Linked DNA regions of Homo sapiens: regions 1 and 3 are each linked to region 2. Evidence: promoter capture Hi-C in 16 types of primary human blood cells and fetal thymus (Javierre and others, 2016). All regions are on one chromosome and are shown on one strand. The core of a region is centred on a gene start or on the middle of the fragment in contact, and the rest is flanking DNA. Distances in the headings are between cores, read along the strand shown.

What was found. Contacts are between HindIII fragments. The CHiCAGO score rates a contact against its expected background, and 5 or more counts as called.
Region 1: a contact is called between a fragment that was not itself captured here and the fragment with the promoter of CRBN in region 2, in 1 of 17 cell types (fetal thymus). The highest score is 8.7, in fetal thymus.
Region 3: a contact is called between a fragment that was not itself captured here and the fragment with the promoter of CRBN in region 2, in 1 of 17 cell types (endothelial precursors). The highest score is 5.8, in endothelial precursors.

Annotation. Positions count from the first base shown.
Region 1 is chr3:625,944-629,662 of GRCh38, forward strand. All of the region lies in intron 1 of LINC01266 (long intergenic non-protein coding RNA 1266), which reads left to right. Among named protein-coding and RNA genes, the nearest start is that of LINC01266, 36 kb to the left of the region's middle. The HindIII fragment of the contact is 5,117 bases long and covers 1-3,719 here.
Region 2 is chr3:3,177,123-3,180,940 of GRCh38, forward strand. It overlaps CRBN (cereblon), which reads right to left and starts at 2,569. Exons shown (of 11, transcript NM_016302.4): 1 at 2,499-2,569. The coding sequence starts at 2,565. RefSeq lists a silencer at 2,633-2,802. The HindIII fragment of the contact is 7,719 bases long and covers 708-3,818 here.
Region 3 is chr3:896,578-900,489 of GRCh38, forward strand. The region is part of intron 2 of LOC107986059 (a long non-coding RNA gene); the gene reads left to right. Among named protein-coding and RNA genes, the nearest start is that of CNTN6, 190 kb to the right of the region's middle. The HindIII fragment of the contact is 1,161 bases long and covers 1,450-2,610 here.

The DNA.
Region 1 (3,719 bases), core at 1,035-3,534, 2.6 Mb before region 2:
CCTCTTTGACTAAACTTCTTTAGCTTCTGTCTCCCCCACCCCTGCCAAGCATACCCTGTAGTTTTGTATCCTACAATTCTTTATATGTTTAACCTTCCTTCTTGCTTCTCTGCCACCTATACACCTATGACTTTGGAGTCTATGTGCCTACACCAGTGCTTCTCAAACTGAGTAATTTAGCCCCCGAGGATCTATCTGGAGACATCTTTAGTTGTCACTGCTGGATGATGGGGTGGGAATATTACCGCCATGTGGTATGTAGAGTATGGATGCTCTAAACATCCTGGAGTGCACAGGGCAGCCTCCAATAACAAAGGAATAACCAGCTAGAATGCCAACAATGTCACGCTAGAAAAACTCTTCTGTAGACCGTACTATTCTTCAATTCCCAACTTATATTCACTTGCTTAGTTGATGTCTTTACAACAAACAGAAAGATCTTTCACTGAGGCTTTGAATGAAACATTTCTATATATAAATCAAACATAATTTGCAACTAAACAATTTATTTTCCCACATTGCCTTGTGTTAGATAATGAACTTTTCTTTAACTCCTTCTAAGTATGTGACACATCTTCTCCACTGGAAAGTTCTTATTTAATATTATAACTGTAATGTCCTTTGATTTCTTCTTTTTGTGATACCATGTATAATCAATACTGTATGACCTTTTATACACTTTGGTCACTTTTTTTGATGAGGCAAGGGATGTATTCACATGCATGATATGGTCGTCACCCACATACTTACTATATGTGTAAATAGAGGGAAAACCACCTTGGGAAAATGTTCTCTACTTCATCATGTTACTTTTAATATGTCAATTAGGCCTATCATATTTTCCAATAATCAAGCTAATTTTTGCCGCTTTTTCACAAAGGAGGACTTTGAAAAGTTGTTAATGAAGCTCAGACCACCAACTTTTGCTTTTGGGTGTTGTCTTAGTCTTTTTGGGACTGCTGACACAGAATACCCAAGGCAAGGTGGTTTATAAAAAATACATATTTCTTTATTTTTTTAAAAAATATTTCGACTTTTATTTTAGATTCAGGAGGTACATATGCAGGTCAGTTCCATGAGTATATTGCATGATGCTGCTGTTAGTATGATTGATCCTGTCACTCAGGTAGTGATCATAGTACCCAATGGGTAGTTTTTTAACCCTTGTCCCACTCTGTCCCTTCCCAATCTAGTACTCTCCAGTATATATTGTTCCCATCTTCATGTTCATGTGTACCCAATGTTTAGCTCCCACTTATAGGTGAGAACATGTGGTATTTGGTTTTTGGTTTCTACAAAGAACAGATATTTGTTTCTTATAGTTCTAGATGCTGGGGAGTCCAAAAATCAAGTGACCCACTTCTGGTGAGGAACTTTTTGCTACATCACCCCATAGTAGGAAAGCAAAGGAGTACATGCTCAAAAGATCAAGAGACTGAACTCACAGCCCCCAACTCTTTTATAATTGGCATTATTAATCCATTCATAAAGATGGAGCCCCCTTCACAATCACCTCCCATTAGGCCCCACTACCCCACACTGTTGCATTAGAGATTAAGTTTCCAATATATGCTTTTAGGGACCACATTCAAACCATAGCATTCCAACCCTGGTCCCCGAAATTCATGTCATTCTCACAAGCAAAATGCATTACTTTCATTTCAATACCCCCAAAGTTTTAGTTTGTTCCAGCACCAACTCATAAGGCCAAAGTCGAGAGTCTCCTCTAAAGAGAATGGTGGTGAGAGTCAAGGCATGATTCATTTTGAGGCAAATGCCCTCCAACTATCAGCCTGTGAAACGAAAGCAAGTTATCTACTTCCAAATTACAGTGATGGAACTGGCATAGAGTAGACATTCTCATTCCAAAATGGACAAATAGGCAAGAAAAGAGGGGTAACTAGTCCCAAGTAAGTCCAAAACCCAATAGGGGGAAAACAGTAAATCTTAAAGCTGGAGAATAACTTTTTTAACTCCGTGTCTTGCCTTCTCAGCACACTGGGACAAGGATTGGACCTCCAAAGCATCAGGCAGCCCATCCCTATGACTTTAGCAGGCTTACTCCACCTAGCAGCTCTCATGGGTTGGAGTCTTATACCCGTGGCTTTCCCAGGCTGGAGCAGCATATTGATGGTTCAGCAGTTCTGAGGTCTTGGAGGCTACTCCACTCTCATGACTCCACTAGGCATTGCCCTAGTGGGGACTTTCTGCAGTGGGTTTGCCTCTGCGGCAAGTCTTTGCCATGGTCTCCAGTCTGTCTGTAACATGCTTTGAAATCTAAGTAGACGTTGCCATGGTCCCAGAGCTCCTGCCCGCTGTGCACCTGCAGAATTAGTACCATGAGGATGCTGCCAGGATTTACAGCTTGTACCTTTGGTGGCTCAAGCCTCACTTGGGTCCACTTGAGCCAAGACTAGGATGGCCAAGAGGCACTGCATTCAGAGAGCAGAGTCCTAAAGCAAAGGGCAGTGAATCCTGAGGTCCTGTAGCCACCTCTCTGAAAACTTTGCTCTGAAAACAAGGCAAGTCCTATCTTGCCTTGAAGGTCTGTGAAATGCCTTTAAGGTCGTTCTTCTATTGTCTTAATCAATAGAACCTGGCTTGCTTCTACCCATATTAATCTCATTAGCAAAGAGTCACTTGGCCACACACTTAATATTCTCTGCTGAACACACTTTTTAATTCTTTACATGGCCAGGCTGAGATTTTTCTAAATCTTTCTATTCTGTTTCCCTTTTAATGATAAATTCCATCATTACATTATTGTCTCCTTCTCTTATTTTACTGTAAGCAGCTAATAGAAGCCATGCAGCATCTTGAGTACTTTGATGCTTAAATATTACTTCTGCCAGACCTGCTAGCTCATAGCTCTTAAATTCTACCTTCATGAAGTCCTAGGACATGGACAGGATTCTGCCAACTTCTTGGTGACTGAATAACAAGGATGGCCTCTACTTCAGTTTCCAATACTTTGTTATTTCCACCTGAGATGTCATCAAAATGATCTTTACTTTCTGTATTTCTCCCAGTATTCTGATGATGACCACTTAAATAATCTGTAAGAAGATTTAGGTTCTTTTTACAACTCTTCTTTTCTTCTGAGCCCTCAGAAGATGCACCCTTAATGCTCCCTGTATAGTAAGCTAGGCTTTTATAGCCTGCTCTTCCAAATTCTTCCAGTCTCTACTCTTTACCCTGTTTCAAAGCCCTTCTCACATCTTCTGGTATTTGTTATAGCAACAGTCCCACTTCCCAGTACCATTTATTTATCTTAATCTGTTTGGGGTTGCATAGCAGAATACCTGAGATGGAGTAATTTATAAAGAACAGATCTTAAGGTTCTGGAGGCTGGGAAGTCCAATGTCAAAGATCCTGCATGTGGTGACAGTCTTCTTGCTGCTTCCCATGGTGGAAGGACAAAAATGCACATGCATGAGAAAGCAAGTGATAGGACATGCAGGCTGAAGTCTTTCATAAACAGTATTATTCCATTTATAAGTATGGAGCTCTTCTGACCAAAACACCTCTCGTTAGGCCCCACTTCCCAATGTTGTTGCATTGGTTATTAAATTTCCAACATGCTTTTTGGGGAACACCTTCAACTCATGGCAGGTATGGATGTATGTGTGTATAAATACATAACAAACACAAATATATATATGTGTGTGTGTGTGTGTATGTACATATGCACATACACATTTATATAAATATAAAAACAT
Region 2 (3,818 bases), core at 1,319-3,818:
CCAAAAGTCCAGTGCTGAGGTTGGGAGACCCTGGCCTAGACTAACAATAAAGAATTACTGAATCTCATTTCTCACCTCCCAGTTCATGTATTTTTAAATGCCCCAAATAAACTTCTAAATCGATAAAATGTCATTACGAAATAATCATTTGTTTTCCTTTGCATATCATTATTTAAGTCAAACCACCTCTAGCCAGGCCCCTGACAGAAAATAAAAATGATTTTCAATATGGTAACTGCCTTGGACTTTCTATTTATTATTACAACTTCCTAGATATAAAACTTTGTCAAAAACAGAATTACTTCAACTTATATGTAAATAGCCAATGGTCTAACACTTCATACAAATTTTCCTTGGAACATGTAAGTTTCACTGAGATAAAAAAAGAGCTATCTAAATGGATGACAAAAATATTCTGCATCAAATTGTTTGTATTTCCAACTCTGACAGTATGGCTATCACTTGGCATGCAGCACAACCCACTTTATTGCTCTACTACAGAAAGTTTAAAAGATAAACTATTAGCTCAAAGGCTGGAATTAATATTGTTAAAAATTTACATTTTAACTGTTCTGACTCCTAGTCTCTAAATAATTTCTTTAGTAACCTTTTTTTCATAAATATGGCTAAAAACCACTTTCCCCTACTCAGTTATGTTTATTAATGTTTCATTTGCCTAGGATAAACTCTTCACATCTCAAATATAAAGCTTTTTGTTGGAACTTAGAGGATTTACTCTTCAGAACAACTCGTACTACATGGAATTATGGAAAGCCCAGTGTTTCCCTACAAATAAAATTTACGTAATTTGGAGAGGCATTATTGCTATATCTACACCATCTCTGGGCCCTCTCCCGACGCTTTTCTGAAAAACAAAAAACAAAACAAAACAAACAAAAAAAAAACAAACAAAAAACCACGCTGACTGTTCAGAGCTATCAGTGAAGTCTGATGACTCATCTCATGCAGAGGCACGATGTGAATGTCGACAGAAGATCAGTATCCTCCCTCTTCTATTCACCATTCTCCCTGAAACACCGGATTTGGCACAGAGAGTAGGGCTAATGTCTCTGAAAAAATAGCTCAGCTTTCCATCAAAGGCTGGCACACTTACCCTTGTGTCAACTCAGCTAGAATGGCTTCGAGAACAACCAGTGACTATGGTTTATTTTTACAGAAAAGTTCTCTCCTATATGGTGGGCACGCACTCAGTCTCTTCCTCTTTTAATCCATGCTGCTACCAGTGGACAAATTAATCTTCCAAGCATAGATTTCTTTAGGCAATTACCTGAAACCTAAAACTGTTTCTTGGCAATCCACAGGAAAAACCCAAACCCACTGGCAAGAGATGCCAGTTTCCCAGCAACTTAGACCCAATATACCTCCTAGGCCTTATGTCCCACAACCATATCCTAAATATGTGCTTTTAGATGTCTCCTGATCTACCTGAAAGGCTTTTTCCCAAATCCTCTGACCCTTAAACAACCTCTGCCTCTGAAGAGCCACAACAGCATTCATTTATCTGGCCCTAAATCAACCGCCTCTGCAGTTGATTTACGTTTAGTTATATTCTCAGCAGCCCCGCCTAGACAGTAAACCTCAATTATCAGATTGTGTATTACCTCTCGTTTCATCTCCACAACACCTAACATACTTGTCATATAACGAAGGGACTCAAGTAATACTTTCAAGTTTGGATGATACACCTTTTGGAAAGCATCTCTTGAAAGGCATTCCATGAAAAGTTTATGCAATATTCCATGCATTTTTTTTTTTGTTCAGTATTTCAACACAAGGCCAAAGTCTAAACATTTCACACAACATACAGGAAAAAGAAAAACTAAGTATCTCTGATTAAGCATAATCGTACATGCCTGAGAAAGACCGATAGTAAGAAAAACAAAACAGAGAAGTGGTTTAGAGATATAATGACAGACACACCCGGGTTGGAATCCTGACTCTGCTGTGTGACCTTGGGCAAGTCATTGAACTAATCTGCAAATCCAATACTCGCTTATCAAATCGGAAACTGAAAACTGATGTGGGAAGGATTAAAAGGCGACATGCATGCAAAGCGTTAACTGCACGGCTCGTAACATGGTAAGTGCTTAGTACATGTTAGCTGTCACTCTTATTAAAAGGAAGGAGACCAGCAAAAGTAACCGCTGTGAATCTGACCCGGTCCTCTAGTTTCAGAGCATTTCCTAGGAGCTAAACTCAGAACACAAGGAGGATGGAGAGGATGGGTTTCCTGTTCTTAATAGCAAATGCTCCCCCCGACACCCTGGCTCACGGCTCGGGGCAACAGAGCAGCGAAGAAAGCGCCGCGACTCCATCGCTGGCCGAGGGCCGACGTGAAGCAGCTTTCCGGTGCGGCCCTGCTGGGCTGGCTCGCCAGGCTTGGCGCCCCCACGCCCGCCTCCCAGGCCCAGCTGCACCGCTAGCGGCTCCGAGCCTCGCCCCACTCCCGACTACAGGGAACTACTCCGGGCGGTTACCAGGCAGGAGCGGCAGGTGGTTGCCCATGTTGTGCGCAGCGTCCTGCTGATCTCCTTCGCCGGCCATGTCTGTTTACCCGCAAAGGAGGCTGGGACAGGGCGGTGCCGAAGACTCCGAGGGAGGGCCCGTGTCGCGCGGCTGCCGCGCACCGGGGCCACAGCGCCCCCTGGCGGCCCCAGGGGAGCAGACGGCGGCGCGTACCCAAGCCTGAAAGTGATGGCCTAGGCGGGAGGGACAATTACAGGCCTGCGCTCCGTCCCGGGGACAGAACGCCGTCCCCTGCCATCCACGGCTGAGTGCCCGGCGTACACGCTGCAGAGCCCTCACTTTGTTCCAGCCCTTAGCATGACTTATTTAATCCTGATATTTTGCATATGGAGAAACTGAGGCTGAGAGCCTTTAGTCTCCACCTTGTTTTTAAACGAAGGGGGCAGGGAGCAAATAGAAACCTGTTCATGCAGCATTAGTTTCAATTCTTAAAATAAGAAGCATATATGTGAAGGCTGGGGAAATCCATCAGTTATTCCGAGGGTGGTTGAATTATTGCTGATTTTCTTCAGTAGTTTCAATGTATGTACATACAACTTCAATAACTTCAGTAGTTTCCATATATGTACATTACATTCCAAAATTAACAAGTATTAATCAGAAACATACTTGAAATGATGATTGCACAGAATGGAAAACGCCTTATAATTGGTAAATAAAATTGTCTGAATATAAACTAGCCTACTCATTATGACTTCAGCTATGTAAAAACAAGTCACTGTGGCAAAAAAGAAAGACTATGTAAAAAATGAAGATAATTCTGTTATAATGGTGGAGTTGTGACTGGTAAGATATTTGTTTTGGAGGGAGGACAAAAGTTTTCGTAGTGTATTTCAGTATCACTTTTTCAGCGAGGAAGGAAAACTGAAAAATCCTTAAATGAAATACAACATCTAAACATGGTAGTGGTGGTGGTGGGCGGAGGCTGAGAGGAAGCAGCAGCATTGCTCAACAGAAAAGTCATGGATCTGAGATTTGAAAAAATGATTTCAGAAAATTTGCCTCCCTGATAAGTTACAAGCAGAAAACTCCCTTGTGACAGAGGCTTGTGAATCATTCCTGTGTCATTTTGCCTCCTGTCTCCGAATCAGTCTGTGGTCTTCGTCAAATCACTTATGGCTGCGGGCCTCAATTCGCCCATTTGCAAAATAAGAACGAACCAAATAGTGTCGCCTATTTGTTCCAGTTAATAATGTCTGCAACATGAATCATAGCATCACCTTTTACGATGAGGTTAATAACAATTACATATACTACGTAATGATTTAACG
Region 3 (3,912 bases), core at 780-3,279, 2.3 Mb before region 2:
TTCACCATAGAAAACAAAAAGGATGTACTATATAATAGTAAACTAATGAAGAATGTAATAATGAACTACTCTCAATATAAAAGAAATAAGTAGGACAATATAAAACAGATAGGACAATTTATTTTATTTTATTTTACTCTAAGTTCTGGGATATATGTGCAGAATGTGCAGGTTTGTTACATAGGTATACATGTGCCATGGTGGTTTGCTGCACCTATAAACGTGTCATCTACGTTTTAAGCCCTGCATGCATTAGGTGTTTGTCCTAATGCTCTCCCTCCAATTGCCCCCCACCCCCTAAAAGGCCCTGGTGTGTGATGTTCCCCTCCCTGTGTCCATGTGTTCTAATTGTTCAACTCCCACTTATGAGTGAGAACATGCAGTGTTTTGTTTTCTGTGCCTGTGTTAGTTTGCTGAGAATGACGGCATCCAGCTTCATCCATGTCCTGGCAAAGGACATGAACTCATTCTTTTTTATGGCTACATAGTATTCCATGGTGTATATGTGCCACATTGTTCTTTATTCAGTCTATCATTGATGGGCATTTGGGTTGGTTCAAGTGTTTGCTATTGTAAATAGTGTTGCAATAAACATACATGTGCATATGTCTTTATAGTAGAATGATTTATAATCCTTTGGCTATATACCCAGTAATGGGATTGCTGGGTCAAATGGTATTTCTGGTTCTGGATCCTTGAGGAATCACCACACTGTCTTCCACAATGGTTGAACTAATTTACACTCCCACCAACAGTGAAAAAACATTCCTATTTCTCCACATCCTCTCCAGCATCTGTTGTTTCCTGACTTTTTAATCACCATTTAAACTGGTGTGAGATGGTATCCCATTGAGGTTTTGATTTGCATTTCTCTAATGACCAGTGATGATGAGCTTTTATTCATATGTTTGTTGGCTGCATAAATGTCTTCTTTTGAGAAATGTCTGTTCATATCCTTGGCCCACTTTTGGATGAGGTTGCTTGATTTTTCTTGTAAACTTGTTTAAGTTCCTTGTAGATTCTGGATATTAGACTTTTGTCAGATTGGTGGCTTGCAGAAATTTTCTCCCATTCTGTTAGTTGCCTGTTCACTCTGATGATAGTTTCTTTTGCTGTGCAGAAGCTCTTTAGTTTGATTAGATCCCATTTGTCAATTTTGGCTTTTGTTGCAATTGCTTTTGGTGTTTTAGTCATGAAGTCTTTGCTCATGCCTATGCAGATAGGACAAATTTTTAAAAAATTCATAGAATAGTCCATTTAAACTCAAATAGTTCAGCTATTACATTAAGTTAATATGGACAAAATCCTGCAATTCGTAGGCAAACAATTTAAAATTGAATACTGAAACAAAATGTAACTGTGTTCTGCTGATAAGAGATGTGTCTTTAATACAAAAATAAGAAAGACTGAAAGTAGAATTACGGAACATGATAAACCTAATCAAAACAAAGCTTGTAATTCTAAAGAAACTATACTGAAAAGCAAGAAATATTTATACATAAAGTTTGAAATTTTATAATGATAAAAAGATAAAACAACAGAAAAAGATGACAAAAATAACTTTGTAAGCATTTAATAACCTAATCTCAAAATGAATAAAACAAAAAAGTACAAAATAAATAAACAATAGAAGAAAAATAATGAATAGCTACATTTACAGTCATAGTTGAATAATGCAGTTTTTCTCAGTAACTAAAGAATAAGCAAAAGATGATTGGATAAATTAAATATGTTATATACATATAATGAAATATAATTTTGCAATAAAAATAAATGAAGTATTGATACATATTACATTAAACATAAATTCAACTTGAAAACTAAGTGAAAATCCAGTCACACCCTAGACAAAAACTTACAAAAAGATATTGTAAAATTCCATTTTTATATAATGTATGTAATAAGTAAGTTCATGGAGTTAGAAAGTATTTTGGTGCTTGCCTGGGACTGATAGATGAAGGTGGGGGAATAATGAGAATGACTGCTGATGAGGACAAGTGTTTCCTTTTAAAGTGATACAAATGTTCCAGAGTTTGATGATGGTTGCACAAATGTGTGAATGCAATAAAAACCACTGAATTATACACTTTATTTGATAAATTATAAATTATTTATCCATAAAACTGCAAAAATGATTTTTTAACTAAAACTTGCATTCAATCTCATCCACCTGTAAATGGCATTAAAATTATTTTCAGTTCAGTATATTCTAGACCAGTGGTTTTCAACCAAGCCTAACTTTGTCTCACAAGGAACATTCGTAATGTCCGAAGACATATTTGATTGTAACAGTAGAGGTGGAGTGGGTATTTGCATTAACTAGGTAGAAGCCAGAAATACTAGTAAAAATCTTACAGTAGGTAAGACAGCTTTCAACCAAAACAATACAAAACAAAACATGTAACTGCCCCAAAATATCAATAGTGCAAAGGTTAACAAGCCCTCTTTTAGAGACATTGATCTCTATTCCTATATAATTTTTAAGCCTCATGGTAATAGAGTCTATCTTGGAATGTGAATGAAGCATAATGTAAACATTACAAGCAACAACATGTCACATTTTTAGAATTTACATCATTCAGAATACCCCTTAGTATCACCTGACCCCAAAGCTTAGAATGATTTTGCCAATTTTGCAAATATGAAAACTTAGATTATGTTATTCTTTTTCTAATGGGCCAAGAAAGGTATAACACTACACTGTCACTTTTTTTTTACTTCTATACTAATTACTTTCTGAATATATATAGATATCTAATCTATCTATCTATCTATTCTTTTACCACTTAAAAATATTATTTTAATCTGTTTAAAACTAAGGCCTAGCATTAAGAGATATACCTAATGCTAAATGACAAGTTAATGGGTGCAGCACACCAACATGGCACATGTATACATATGTAACAAACCTGCACGTTGTGCACATGTACCCTAAAACTTAAAGTATCATAATAATAAAATTAAAAAAAAAACTAAGGCCTAAAAATAAGAAGTGCTATTTTGTCTGACAGCAAAATAAATAAGTAGTTTTTAAAATAGTAAGCTGAAGTTTAATAATTATGTTAAAATTATAGTAACTTTTTTCTGCAGTAATTATTTTTGATAAAAATTAATGCAATTACATGACATAAAATTAAGATATAGTTTAGTAAGAAAAACACAAAACAATAACCATTGTAGAATGAAAATAAGTTTTAATATATGAAAGACTTAAGAATCCTTTAATACATTAAACTGACTGATACTAGTGTTCTTTGCTGAATCATAGGTAACATATTTATTGATTTTTAAAATAGGGTTAGCGTAGAATAAATGAAATTTATAATTTAATAGTCATCAACTTCACATTCATTTTGCATACCACAGGAGAAAAAAAGAGGCTCAGAAAGATTAAGTTCTAAGGATAATTGATTTTAAAATTGGGGCCAGAATTAGGACTCAAACGCATATTTTCTGAGGTCTAGCCCTTTGTATATTACACCCTTGCTGAAGACTAAATTCGAGTGTGTGTCTTATTGGCAGTGAGAAGGCAGATTTGCCAATATGTAGTTTCTAAATCTTGCATTTATTTCTATACATTTTAAATTTAATTTAGAAATAGAACAGGGAGAGTAATGTTAGCAAGATGGTCAATCAGAGTTGTTTGGCACTCATCCCCACAAAAAGGGTTGTGGGGTTCCCCTCCAACATAACAAATGAACAACTATATTTCAGTGGAAGTTACTGAGGAAGTATGCTGGGGAACATAAGGGGAGTGAAAAAATCCCTGTGAAGCACAGAAACTCAGGATAGAACCATAAAAGAAGAGGGAGACACACAAACTCTACCAAATTGTTCCCTCACTGGGATTGGCTCATAGCCAGGAGGGGCTACTGCTTATCGAGAAAAGGTAAGCTGGAGACACCAGTTGTC